Linked DNA regions of Homo sapiens: all the other regions are linked to region 2. The links are contacts of gene promoters, found by promoter capture Hi-C in blood cells and fetal thymus (Javierre and others, 2016). All regions are on one chromosome and are shown on one strand. Each heading gives the region's core, a stretch centred on a gene start or on the middle of the fragment in contact. The rest is flanking DNA. Distances are from core to core; before and after follow the strand shown.

Region 1 (4,970 bases), core at 196-2,695, 620 kb before region 2:
ACAAAAGACACAGAATAGCCAAAGCTATACTGAGCAAAAAGAACAAACATGGAAGAATCATATTACCTGACTTTAAATTACACTACAGAGCTATAGTAACCAAAACAACACAGTACTGGCATAAAAACAGACACACAGACCAATGGAACAGTATAGAAAACCCAGAGATAAATTCACACATCTACAGCAAACTCACTTTTGACTAAGTTCTCAAGAACATACACTAGTGAAAGGACAGTCTCTTTAATACATAGTGCTGTGAAAACTGGATATCCACATGCAAAAGAATGAAACTACACCCCTATCTCTCACCATATACAAAAATCAAATCAAAATGTATTAAAGACTTAAATTATAAGACCTCAGACTATGAAACCACCAAAGGAAAACATTGGGGAACCTCTCTAGGACACTGGACTGCACAAAGATTTCGTGAGCAATATCCCACAAGCACAGGCAACCAAAGCAAAAATGGACAAATTGAATTACATCAAGTTTAAAAGCTTCTGCACAGCAAAGGAAACAATCAACAAAGTGAAGCGGCAACCCACATAATGGGACAAACATTTGCAACTTACCCATCTGACAAGGAATTAATAATCAGAATACATAAGGAGCTCAAAGAACTCTATAGGAAATAAATCTAATCGTCTCATTTAAAAATGGGCAAAAGACCTGAATGGACATTTCTCAAAAGAAGACATACAAATAGCAAACAGGTATATGAAAAGATGCTCAATATAATTGATCATCAGAGAAATGCATATTAAAGCTACAATGAGATATCTTCTCAACCCAGTTAAAATGGCTTTTACCTGAAAGTCAGGCAATGATAAATGCTAGTGAGGATGTGGAGAAAAGGGAACTCCCCTGCACTGTTGGTGGCTATGTAAATTAGTACAACCATTATGGAGAACAGTTTGGAGGTTCCTCAAGAAAACTAAAAATAGAGCTACCATACGATCCAACAATCCTATTCCCAGGTATATACCCAAAAGAAAGAAAATCAGGATAACGAAGAGATATGTGCATTCCCATGTTTACAGCAGCACTATTCTCAATATCCAAGATTTGGAAGCAACCTAAGTGTCCATCAACATATGAATGGATAAGGAAAACGTGGTACTTATACACAATGGAGTACTATTCAGCCATAAAACGAATGAGATCCAGTCATTTGCAGCAACATGGATGGAACTGGAGGTCATTATGTTAAGTGAAATAAGCCAGTTACAGAAAGACAAACTTCACATGGTCTCACTTATTTGTGACAGCTAAAAATTAAAATAATTGAACTCATGGAGATAGAGTAGAAGGGTGGTAACCAGAGGCTAAGAAGTGTAGTGGTGAAGTGGCAGGGAACTGGGGATGGTTAATGGGCGCAAAAATATAGTTAGAAAGAATGAATAAGACCTAATATTTGCTAGCACAACAGGGTGACTACAGTCAATAATAATTTAATCATACATTTTAAAATAACTAAAAGAGTATAATTAGATTGTTTGTAACACAAAGGATAAATGCTTGAAGTGATGGATACCCCATTTACCCTGATGTGATTATTACACTTTGCATGCCTGTAACGAAATATCTCATGTAACCCACAAATACATATACCTACTATATACTCACAAAATTAAAAATAAAAAATATTTAAAAAGAACAATGGACACTAGGGTCTGTTTGAGAGTAGAGAGCAGGAGGAGGGTGAGGATTGAAAAACTACCTATCAGGTACTATGCTGATTACCTGGGTGACAAAATTATCTGTACGCCAACCCCTACGACGCATAACTTACCCATGTAACAAACCTACAAATGTACCCCTTGAACCTGAAATAGAAGTTGCAAAGAATAAGAAAAGAGAAACAGGTGTTACAAATCACTATTTTAAAAGAAATCATATGAAAATAAAGTAGCTCATTCCTTTATTCTTCTTTCTCTTATACATTATATTGTGATTTTATAGAATATTTGGAGCCCACTGGACTTTCACTAGCAGCTACCCTCTGTACACCCTTACCATCCCACAGTTCCTCTCTTTCAAATAAGAAGACCATGTGATTTACTAAATAATTTTAAAGTAATAATATAATATTTTGAGATGTTAATTTACATTTCTTTTTCTGTCTGAGTTTCCTTGTGTTCATTGCCTCCCTACTCCCAACAGTTGAACAGTAGTGATATATTTCTACATGTCTTAGCCTAGTCAGGAATAAATAGACACACTTTTCAATTTGGTTATTGAAAACTTACTGAAAATATAATTTACTAAAACAAAAAAAATACACACAAAAAAAACCAGAGATCAACTCAAAATGGATTAATGACTTAAATATAAGACCTAAAACTGTAAAAGTACTGAAAGAAAACATAGAGGAAAGCTTATTAGCATCTGTCCTGGCAAAGATTTTTGGGATATTACCCCAAAAGCATAGGCAACAAAAGCAAAAATAGACAAATGGATTGCATCAAAGTAAAAAGCTTTTGCATGGAAAAAGAAACAATCGAGTGAAGATGCAACCTGCACAATGAGAGAAAATATTTGCAAACTACATATCTGATAACGGGTTAATATCCAAAATATATAAGGAAATCAGACAACTCAATAGCAAGAAAATAAATAACCTGATTTAAAAATGGGCAAAGGACCTGAATAGATATTTTTCCAAAGGAGACATCCAAATTGCTGACAGTTACATAAAAATGTGCTCAATATCACTAATCATCAGAGAAACACAAATTAAAGCCACAATGATATATCACCTCACACCCATTAGAATATCTACCATCATTAAAAAACAAAAGATAACAAGTGTTGGGGGGATATTGAGCACTATTAGTGGGAATGTAAACCAGTTCAGCTATTATGAAAAACGGTAAGGAGATTCCTCAAAAAATTAAAAATAGAGTTATTGTATGATTCAGCCATTTCACTTTTAGCTATATACCCAAAGGAAGTAAAGTCACTATGTCAAAGACATACCTGCACTTCCATGTTCATTGCAGTATTATTCACAATAGCCAAGATATGGAATCAGCCTAAGTGTCCATCAATGAATCAATAGATAGGGAAAATGTGGAGTATACACACACAGAGACGGGCACACACAATGGAATACTATTCAGCTTTAAGAAGGAAGAAAATCCTTTCATTTGCAACAATCCACATAAACCTGGAGGACATTATGCTAAGCGAAGTAAACCAGACACAGAAAGGCAAATGCTGCATGATCTCATTTATATGTGGACTCTAAAAAAATCTAATTGATAGAAACTGAGAGTAGAATGGTGGTTACCAGGGGTTGGCAGGAGGTTGTAGGAAATGGGGAAATGTTGGTCAAAGGGTTCAAAGTTTCAGTTAGGAAGGAGAAATAAGTTATAGAGCTCTATTGTACAGTATGGTGACTGATTATAGCAAATTATAATGTATCATATACTTGAAATTGCTAAAGAAGTAGATTTTAAATGTTCTTACTGCAATAGATATTATATGAGGCAATGGATACATTAGTTAGCTTGATTTAATCATTCCACATTGTACACATATGTCAAAACATCAAGTTACACCTCATATATATATAATTTGTATTTTTCAATTAAAAATTAATTAGCTAATTAATTAATTGAAGTGCTACTTGAGAAGCTCTAACTTCTATTACTCCAGAATATGACTGTAATTGGATATCAAGCCTATAAAGATGTGATTAAGTAAAAACGAAACCTTTAGGTGGCCCTAATCCAATCTAACTGATGCTTTTATAAGAAGAGGAAATTTGTATGCACAGAGAAACAGCAGGGGTGCATAGGTACAGAAGAAAGACTATGTAAGGACACAGTGAGAAGGTGACTATCTGAAAGCCAAAGAGAGAGAGACCTCAGAAGAAACTAAGCCTATATATACCTCGATCTTGGACTTCCAGCCTCCAGAACTGTGAGAAAATGAATGTCTGTTGTTTAAGTCACCCATTCTGTGGTATTTTGTTATTGCAGCACTAGCAAACTAATATACCATGCTAATGTCCCACGCTAATTTCATCAGATTTAGCTTCTCAATCCTGAAGGCATTCAATATTTCTCCTTTTTTTTTGTGAAGAGAGGACTGAATGGAGAAATGAGTGCTCAATTAGTGGGTGGAGGGCAGTTAATTTATATATATATAATGGTCCTTTTTGAGGAAGAATTGAGATATGTCAGGGTCTCCCTGGTGTTTCAGGAAATGTTTGTGCATAGCATCAATAAAATTTTCGAAGACTAACACTCCAGACTGTTCTCCGGTTTTACTACATAAGGGAGGCAGAAAAACACAGTCTTCAGAAACAGGAAGACCTGGGTTTGGGCTCTTCTCATCTCCAAGTACCTCAACTGTAAATTCAAGATAGTAATAGTATCTACATCAAAGTGTTTGTAGGAAGGGTTAAACGAAGTATTGCATGGAAAGCAAGCCTAGCCTGTGAGAATTAATTTCCTTATCAGAAGTTTCTCTAAACTACAAAGGGCTATGGCAACTAAAAGTGACAGAAAGATCTCAGTACCAATAACATTTCTGTTCACCCTGCTATCCACAAGGAATTAGCCTCATACAATTTAAAAAATGGCAGGTGAAAGGTTCAATGACTGCACCAAAACCCAACTTATTGCTTGTATGTAATACTCAGATAAAATAATGCAAATTATATCACACCTAGTAGTGCTCAATAAATATTGGTGCTTGTCAATTCTTATCACTCTACCTTTATGCCCCATCTACAAACACACACACACACACACCACTACTCAAATACAAGTTTTTTGTTTTTTAGGGAAAGTTTTCCAGTTGTAGAAGAGAGTACAGACAGATATGAACACCCCCCGACACTTTTTACTCCCTAATTAAACTTTAAATGCAGGTTCACATTAACTTCTAAGGTCTCAGTGGAGATCAATTATTACAACCGAGTTGACATCAGCATAAATATTCTGAAATCATAT
Region 2 (5,092 bases), core at 1,367-3,866:
TCTATGAGACCTTGAGCAAGCTACTTCTTTCTGAGCCTCAGTTTTCTCATCTGTAAAGTGGGGCTAATGGTGGCCTCCTCAAAGGTCTGTTATGAGGAACCATCCAACACAATGCCTAGCACAGTGAAGATCCATGATCCATGTTAATTTCTATCATGCAAAAGCTGAAGTTTTTGAAGTGAAGAGAACCTTCACAACTGTGGTTCCACTGATAAAAGAAGCCACAGACCAATGGGATAGTTAAGAAGAAATGGACATAGTAATTCCAATGATGAAATCATCATAGCCTTGACACTGACATCCTACTGTGTGACTCTGACTGAGCCACCTTCCTCTCTGGGCTTCAGTTACCTATGGGCCTATGCTCTACTTTTTCTGAATTAGACAGTAACTCAAGAAAGTCTCCCACAAAGCTCCTAGCCCTCTCCCCTCTATGTGCTTTCTCTGGGAGAGCTCATCCACACTCTTGGCTTTCCCTACCACTCAAACTTAATATCCCCCGAATTTATCTCCAACTGAGACTACTCTGTGCCTGGACGTTTCACAGATGCCGCAGATCTTCCATATCTAAAGCCAGACTCATCACCTTACTCTTTAAACCTGCTTCGCATCCTCCAGGGTTCCTCTACTCCGAGAAAAGACACCTAATCCACCCATCAACTCAAACCAGGAACTTGCCTCTTTTTCCCTCCCTGTCTACAGCCAACCAATCTCCAAGGCCCTATTCCACCCCTTCTTTTCCATGCCTGTTGCCACTGTCCTACTTCAGGCCTCATCAGTTTCTAGACAAAAACAGCGTTCTCATCAGTCTTTCCCTCTCCAGGTTATGCTTCATACTGATTATTTCCTGAACTTTCTAGCCAGCAAATCCCATCCTATTTCTCACCCTAGAACCTGCCCACGAATTTTTACCAGCCACTGCAGTGTTTCACAGTTTGCCTTTGAGAAATATCTGTTCTGCTGGGTCTTAAGGGACACTATCCATAGAAAGCTAATGAGAAACAAAAGCAAACAGGTTTTTTAGTGGTTCTTATTCTTACCCAAGCCTTTAATATGTTCATGAGTGTTAAGACTTTTCAGTGGGAGCAGAACAAGAGTTTTTCTTACATAAGGTAACTGGAGAAGCTTCTTCACTGAACATCTAACAGAACTAGTTAGCATGAATTTTGGCAAACACTGGCCTAAATGATAAAATCAAAGGCACATAAGGGCTTCCATGTCTTATGCTTTTCAAGGGGGCTTCCCACACCCCAGCTTCATTCTCTACCACTCCTCCACCCCCCACGCACACACGCCCATACTCCAATACTGAGCTCCCTGCTACTTTCCAAATATAACACATTATACCCTCATGCCACAGAACTTGAGTGTTGCTCTCTCTGCTTCCCCCACCTAGTTAACTCCTTCTCACTAAGACCCAGCCCAATTCACCACCTCCACTAAGAAGCTGTCTCCCCATCCTGTTACCCCATGCACCCTGAGCTCCTCTTTATCAGAAAATCTATCAATGTTGTAACTATTTACGTGTGTGGATCCTCAATGGATAGTATACTTTCTTGAGAGAGATGACTCTGCCTAATGTCATCTCCAAAGCTAGAAATTGAATGAAGATTTTTTTAAAAACCATACTATGCAACAGGCCCTCTACTGGGCCTCTTGTTCTTGTATATCCCTCAAGACGAGCCTACAGTGTAGATCTTTGCTGTCCAAACAGCCACAGGTGGTTACTGAGCACTTGAAATATGGCTAGGCCAAATCGAAATGTGCTAAAACTGTAAAATACCAGATTTTGAAAACTTAATACTAAAAAATGTAAAATATCTCAATGTTTTATACTGACTACATGTTGAAATATTTCATACACACCGAGTTTACTAACATTGATTTCATCTGCTTTTTGCTTTATTAAAGTGGCTACTAAAAAATTTTAAATTATATGTGACTAGCATAATATTTCTACTGTACAGCGCTCTGGTGGATACTTTTATACGCATTTTAGAAACTAGGAAACTGAGTCTCAGGGAGGTAAACTGCCTTGTCCAGAGTAATCCCACGAGTCAGTGGTACAGCCCGTAAAGCACTGGAATCCAGGATTCTGATTCTAAAAGCTGAATTCATTCCACCTCACCTTTAGGTACCAATCCACAACTGCTCGAGAGGAAATGCAGGCTCTGCGGGATGGGGCTCCTCCTCTCCACACCCCCACACAGGCGGGTCGCGGCGCCTCACATTCACTCACCATTGCGCATGAAGTAATCCTCCACTGCACCCCCCAGCCACTTGGCCTTCTCCTGGCTGTGCACACCCCCGAAGCCATTCTCCACAGCGATCTGTAAACACAGGTCCAAGCCCACCAAGTCAGCTTGGGAGCAGACCTGGAGTAGCCTGGAGGCCGCTTACGCCGCCCAGCCAACTCCTCTTATGCCGCCTAGCCAAGCCTCAGGCACCTAGCCCAACCAACTCCTGTTCTGCCCCGGGCCCTAACCTTGACCTTGCCCTGGCCCTGGCCCCACTGACCTGCAAGGCCGGCCAGGCCTCCAGGGCCGCGCAGACCCCAGCCCGGAAAAGAGCTCGCGCATCTTCTGCAGCGCCCGCCATTATCCGGCCCCAGTCCACGTGACGTCCCGGCGGCCCAATCCCTCTGTAGCTCGGCCCAGGCAGAACGAGACGCAAGCCGAGCCTGAGAACACAGGATTCTCTTTTCCGCAGACCTGGCAGCAAGACTAGAGCAAAAGAAAAATCTGTCAGAGCGATCGATGACACCACCAGAGTTACTCACTTAAATCAAAGGACACCAGACCTGAAGGACGTGTGGGGCCATGGTTTCCGGATCCGTGGGTACTGCGGAGGAAATATGTGGGGAACTTATTACAGATACAGATTCCAGGCCCTGGGGCAGAGGACTCAGTGAGTATAGCCTTAAAAATCTGCATTTAAAAAAAGCATCCTAACATCTGTATAGAATACTGCAACCAACAACAGTAAAATACAATCAGCTCTCCCTATGGGGGGCAGTCCACGTCCGTGAATTCAACTAACCTCAGATGGAAAATATTCAGGAAAAAATTGCATCTGCATTGAACATGTGTATACTTTTTTTCTTGACATTATTCTCCTAAACAGTACAGTATAACAGCTATATACATAGCATTTACACTTTATTAGGCATTATAAGTAACCTGGAAATTATTTATTTATCTATTTTTTTGAGACCGAGTGTCACTCTGTGGCCCAGGCTGGAGTGCAGTGGCGCCATCTCGGCTGACTGCAACCTCCGTCTCCTGGTTTCAAGCAATTCTCGTGCCTCAGCCTCCCGAGTACCTGAGATTACAGGTGCCCACCACCACTCCCAGCTAATTTTTGTGTTTTTAGTAGAGACAGGGTTTCGCCATGTTGCCCAGGCTGGTCTCGAACTCCTGGGTTTAATCCACTTGCCTCAGCCTCCCAAATTGCTGGGATTATAGGCGTGAGTCACATCTGGAAATGATTTAAAGTATACAGTAGAATATTCATAGGTTATACGCAAATACTATGCCATTTTATATCAGGGACTTGAGCATCTATGAATTTTGGTATCCTCCGGAGGTCGTGGAACCAGTCTCCCACGGATACCCAGGGATAACTGTACATGTTTTTCTGAAGTACACAAGAACATTCTCCAGAACAGATCATACACTAGGCCATACAGTAGGCCTCCATAGATTTAACAGGATTGAACATACAAAGTATGTTGTCTGACCACAATGGAAAGAAGTTAAAAATCAGTAAAAAGAAACTTACAAAATTCACAAATATATGGAAATTAACACACTCCTAAGCAATAAATGGGTCAAAGAAAAAAATCACAAAGCAAATTAGAAAACACTTTTAAATGAATGAAAACAAAAACATAAAAAAATGCATGAGATGCAGCTAAAGCAAAACTTAGAGGGAAATCTTTAGCTGTAAACATGCATATCTAAAAAGAAGAGCCGGACATGGTGGCTCATGCCTGTAATCATAGCACTTTGGGAGGTTGATGCGGGAGGATGGCTTGAGCTCAGGAGTTCAAGACCAGCCTGGGCAACATAGTGAGACCCCATCTCTAAAAACAATTTTAAAAATTAGGCCAGGTGTGGTGGCTCACGCTTGTAATCACAGCACTTTGGGAGGCCAAGGCAGGCAGATCACTTGAGGTCAGGAGTTCGAGACCAGCCTGGCCAAGATGGTGAAACCCCGTCTCTACTAAAAATACAAAAATTAGCCAGGTCTGGTGGCAAGCACCTGTAATCCCAGCTACTTGGGAGGCTGAGGCAGGAGAATGGCTTGAACCCGGGAGGCGGAGGTTACAGTGAGCCGAGATGGTGCCATTGCACTCCAGCCTGGGAAACAGAGTGAGACTCTGTCTCAAACTAAATAAATAAATAAATTTGAAAACTAGGCCAGGCATGGTGGCTCACACCTATAATTCCCGCACTTTGGGTGGGCAGATCACCTGAGGTCAGGAGTTTGAGACCAGCATGGTCAATATGAACAAACCCTGTCTCTACTAAAAATGCAAAAGTTAGCCAGGCATGGTGACACACACCTGTAATCCCAGCTACTTGGGAGGCTGAAGCACGAGAATCGCTTGAACCCGGTAGGCAGAGGTTGCAGTGAGCTGAGATCACTCCACTGCACTCCAGCCTGGGCGACACAGTGAGACTCTGTCTCAAACAAACAAACGAACAAACAAAATTAGATGGGCATAGTGGCATATGCGTGTAGTACCAGCCACTCAGGAGGCTGAGGTGGGAGGATTGCTTGAGCCTGGGAGCTCAAGGCTGCAGTGAGCCGTGATTGTGCCACTGCACTCCAGCATGGGGGACAGAGCAAGACCCTGTCTCAAAAAAATAAAAAATGAAAGAATGATATCAAATTAATAACCTACACTTCCACTTCACAAAACCAGAAAAAGAAGAGCAAAGTAATCCCAAGGCAAGCATAAGAAAGGAAATAATAAATAATAGAACAGAAATAAATGAAATAGAGAATTGAAAAACAATAGAGAAAAGAAAAAACAGTGAAGCCAAAAGTCAGTTGTTGTTTTTTGTTTGTTTGTTTGTTTGTTTTG
Region 3 (4,803 bases), core at 1,479-3,978, 550 kb before region 2:
TTGACAGAAGCTGCATTTAATCTATAGATTAGTTAGGGAATATTACCATCTTAACAATAATAAGTTTTAGGTCCCTGAACATGAGATGTTGTTGCATTTACTTAGGTCTTTAATTATATTCACCAATGTTTTGCAGTTTTCAGAGTGTTTTACATTTTTTAAAGTGTTCTTTTAAGCATTTTATTGTTTTGATGCTATTGTAAATAAAATTGTTTTACTTAATTTCATTTTGTTTGCTCATGGCTACTTTATAGAAATGTAATTGATTTTTATATATTGATCTTATATTCTGCAACATTGCTGGACTCATTTATTAGGTCCAATGGTGTTTTTTAGTGCATTCCTTGGGATTTTCTATATACAAGATTATGTTATCTGCAAATAGAAATAATTTCATCTCTTCCTTTCCAATCCAGATGCCTTTTATTTTCTTTTTCTTACCTAATTACCTTGGCTATAACCTCTACTAGAATGTTGAAAAGATGAGATGAAAACAGACATCCTTCTGTTGTTACTGATCTTGGCAGGCGGCATGGGAGAAACTATTCAATCTTTCACCATTAAGTGTGATATTCACTGTGGGTTTTTCATTGGTGTCTTTTATTAGGTTTAGGGCCTTTCCTTCTAGTTTTAATTTGTTGTTGGTTTTATCATGAAGGGGTATTTAATTTCCCAAATGCTTTATCTGTGCCTATTATGATGATCATTTGGTTTTTTTGTCCTTAATTCTATTGATGTGATCTGTTGCATTAATTGATTTTCAAAGGTTAAATCAAGCTTGCATTCCTATAATAAATCTAACTTGATTGTGATGTAAAAAGTATAAGTATAATATATACATATATATAATGTATACATATAAATCCTTTTATACATTCCTGGGTTCAGTTTGCTAGTGTTTTGTGGGGATTTTTACATCCATATTCACAACAGCTATTGGTCTATAATTTTCTTTTCTTCTAATATATGTGCCTAACTTTGGTAGCACGGAAATACTGGCCTCATAGAATGAGTTGGGAAGTGCTTCTTCCTCTTCTACTTTTTGAAAGAGCTTTTGAAGAATCGTATTATTCTTTAAATGTTTGTAGAATTCACCAGTGAAACCATCTAATCCTGGACTTTTCTTTCTGGCAAGGTTTTTCATTACTTATTCAACCCCTTGTTATAGATCTATTTAGATTTCATTTCTTTTTTAGTCAGTTTTGAGAGTTTGTATCATTCTAATAATTTATCTATTTCACCTAAGGCATTTATTGTGTTGGCATACAGTTTATGATTGTTCATAATATTCCCTTATAATTCTTTTTATTTTCATAAAGTCAGTAGTAATGTCTCCTCTTTTTTTCCTGAATTTATTAATTTGAGTTTTCTCTTTTTTTTCTTGGTCAGTCTCACTAAAGGTTTGTCAAGTTTATTAATTTTTTCAAATAACCAACTTTTGATTTTGTTGATTTTTTTCTAATGTTTTCCTAGTCTCTGTTTTATTATTTTCACCTCTAATCCTTATTATATCCTTCTTCTGTTTCCTTTAGGTTCCCATATTTGTGAATTTCCCAAAGTTCTCTCTGTTATTAATTTTTTATTTTACTCCATTATGATTGGAGAACATACTTTATATGATTTCCATTCTTCCAAATTTATTGAAGCTTCTTTTATGGCCTAGAATATTGTCTCTCTTGGAGCATGTTTGATGTACACTTTGGAAAAATGTATAGTCTGCTGTTTGGAGATGGAGTGTTTTACAGATGTTTGTTATTACTACTTTGTGTTGAAGTCCTCTATTTCCCTGTTGTTGATCTTCTATGTAGTTGTTCTATCCATTATTGAAAGAGTGGTCTTGAAGTTTCCAACTATTGTCAGTGGATTGTCTATTTCTCCCTTCAATTCTGCCAGTTTTGCTTCATGTATTTGGCAGCTCTGTTGTTTAGGCATATACGTTTATACTTGTGATATATTCATTATGGATTGACCCTTTTGTCATTATTGAATGTCCCTATATATCTCTAGTAATGTTTTTGAACATCCATTTTGTCTCATATTAGTATGGTCACTCCAAATTTCTTGTGGTTGTTGTTTGCATGATGTATTACTTACGTTATTTTACTTTTAATCTATTTGCTTCTTTCTCTTTTTTCTTCTTTCTTTTTTAGAATAGAGATGGAGTCTCACTATGTTGCCCAGGCTGGTCTCAAACTTCTGGACTCAAGGGATCCTCCCACCTTGGTTTCCCAAAGTGCTCGGATTATAGGCGTGAGCCACCAGGCCTGCCTTGTATCTTTCAGTCTAAAACCTATCTTCTGTAGGCAGCATGCAGTTGGATCTTGTTTGTTTGTATTCAGTTAGATATTCTCTACCTTTTGATTGGGTTGATTAATCTGTTCTGATTTAAAATCATTATTGATATAGTTGGTTTAAATATGCAGTTTTATTTTTCCATAGAGCTCATGTCTTTTTCTCTCTATTCTTCCTTTACTGCTTTCTTTTGCATTAAATGAATTATTCTAGTTTAACTTTTTAATTCATTTGATCATTTTTTATTATATATTTTTTAGGTATATTCTTCGTGGTTGTTCTAGGGCTTTTCACATACATCATACATCAGTGTGCTTCAGATTTGTACTAATTTAATTTCAATGAGATATAAAAATTTTACTCATATATAGCTCTCTTTCACCTTCCTTTTTGAGCTATTATAATATATATATTATATCTGTATATGCTAAAAACTAAATAATACATCATTATAAGTATTATTTTATATAATTTTATGTTTTAAGGAAGCTGAGAAAATTAAGGAGAACATGTATGTATTTATTATTTTCTATTATTTTCATTTGTTCCTGTGGGTTTGAATTACCTTCTGGTATCATTTCCTTATTTCTATATAACTCTTTGCTTTGTGACTTGGCTAGGCTATTTTTAAAGTATGTTTCCCTGCAGTGTGAACCCTTCAGTGTTGCTTCTTGGAGTGCATAGTTTTTGGCTTGCAGGTAATTTGGGCTTTCTTTGACTTTTTCCCAGTCTCTCTATTAAGCTGTCAGCCCACATGGGGGTATTACACTCTAGGCTCCACTAATTACTAGCTGAATGCTGTATTTTGTTTTTGTTTTTTGTTTGTTTGTTTGTTTGGCAGTGTCCTGAAGCATGCATTGCCCAGCAGCCTTATCTAATTAAACTCTAGCAGGAGTAGTTTGTGAAGTAAGTCTTGGAGGTTTCTTCATACCCCAGAAGGGCTCTTCTTACCTGTCCCTCTCTCTCTTGTTCTCTCTGATGAACAAGCTGGCCTATGTTGCTGTTAGTTAAGTGAACTTGTAGTTTTTGAGAACATCCTTGGGCTTGAGCTTCTTTGTACTATGTTAAAAATAAAGTTAGTTTTGGGGGGAGAGTTTCAGAGCTCTCTCATCTTATGAATTTCTTCTCTCCATGGGTATACTGTCTGAGCACTGTTCTGGGTGCTGGGCGAGACAGCAGCTTCTGGTCTTAGTTTGCCTATCCTGGTGTGGAACCTACCCTGTGAGCAAGATGGAATGAGGGTAATCAGGACCTCAGTATTCTTAGCCTATTGCACCTGGTATATAGCCTCCATTCTATGAGTAAAAACTGGGAGGAGGAAGGGATCCTCCAACCTCTTAACCACACTTGCCAGGAATTTAGCCTCTGCAATTCTGAGCTGAAGGGAATGCTAAATGCTAGCTCTCTGCTCCTTCCAGTAAGATGCCAAAGTATTGATGGGACATTCTCTCCAAGACGAAAGGGAGCTTCATCTTGGCTATACACACCTTAAGTGGAGCTTCTATCAAGCTAAGCTTGGAGCCAGTAGTGAGGGGACAGTAGTAAGGTCGGGAACAGTAGCATGGCACATGTATCAAAGACTGTGTTCTTACCACATTTCAGTAGATTTTCTTGAATAAAAATATCTTCATGTACTGTATTCCATTAAGACAATTTCCAGAGATTTTAAAAGGTTGTTGTGTTGTAATTTTGCCAGCTGAGCTTGTTTTATTAGAGAATGGGTCTTTAGAGCTCCTCATGCTGTCATGCCAGAAATGAAAGTCTCAAGATTGTCTTTGTGTGTTGATCTTGTATCTTGCAGCCTTGATGAACTCACTTGTTAGTTCGAGGAATTTCTGTAGTTTAGGGGGATATTTCTATGTAGACAATCATGACATTTGCAAATAGGGATTTTTTAAAAATTATTTTCCAAACCGTATGCCTTTTATTTCCTTTTATTGCCTTATTGCAGTGGTTAGAACTTCTAGTACTATGTCAAAAGAGTGGAGAAGGTGGAAATCCTTACATTAGTCCTGATGTTAGGGGGAAAGCATTTAGTCTTTCACTTTTAAGTATAATGTTGGTGATAGTTTTTGTTTGCTTTATAGAAGTTTCTTATCAAGTTGAACTTAAACAAATTTACAAGAAAAAAACAACCCTATTAAAAAGTGGGCAAAGGACATGAACAGACACTTTTCAAAAGAAGACACACATACAGCCAACAAGCATATGAAAAAATGCTCAACATCACTGATCATTAGGGAAATGCAAATCAAAGCCACAGTGAGATACCATCTCACACCAGTCAGAATGGCTATCATAAAAAAGTCAAAAAATAACAGATACTGGTGAGATTGCAGAAGAAAGTGAATGTTTATACACTGCTGGTGGGAATGTAAATTAGCTCAACCATGTGGAAAGCAGTGTAGTGATTCATCAAAGAGCTAAAAACAGAACTACCATTCAACCCAGCAATCCCATTACTGGGTATATACCCAAGGGGATATAAATCGTTCTATTATAAAGACACAT

What was found. Contacts are between HindIII fragments. The CHiCAGO score rates a contact against its expected background, and 5 or more counts as called.
Region 1: a contact is called between a fragment that was not itself captured here and the fragment with the promoter of TSR2 in region 2, in 3 of 17 cell types (fetal thymus, M2 macrophages and M0 macrophages). The highest score is 6.6, in fetal thymus.
Region 3: a fragment that was not itself captured here is called in contact with the fragment with the promoter of TSR2 in region 2 in 1 of 17 cell types (fetal thymus); the score reaches 5.9 in fetal thymus.

The regions. Positions count from the first base shown.
Region 1 is chrX:55,058,124-55,063,093 of GRCh38, reverse strand. It overlaps a transcript of PAGE2B not described here. Among named protein-coding and RNA genes, the nearest start is that of PAGE2B, 14 kb to the left of the region's middle. The HindIII fragment of the contact is 1,880 bases long and covers 506-2,385 here.
Region 2 is chrX:54,437,928-54,443,019 of GRCh38, reverse strand. TSR2 (TSR2 ribosome maturation factor) reads right to left here and starts at 2,616. Exons shown (of 5, transcript NM_058163.3): 1 at 2,518-2,616; 2 at 2,240-2,330. The coding sequence starts at 2,598. RefSeq lists an enhancer at 2,849-2,898. The HindIII fragment of the contact is 25,574 bases long and covers 1,128-5,092 here.
Region 3 is chrX:54,983,637-54,988,439 of GRCh38, reverse strand. All of the region lies in intron 1 of PFKFB1 (6-phosphofructo-2-kinase/fructose-2,6-biphosphatase 1), which reads left to right. Among named protein-coding and RNA genes, the nearest start is that of PFKFB1, 8.2 kb to the left of the region's middle. The HindIII fragment of the contact is 2,160 bases long and covers 1,649-3,808 here.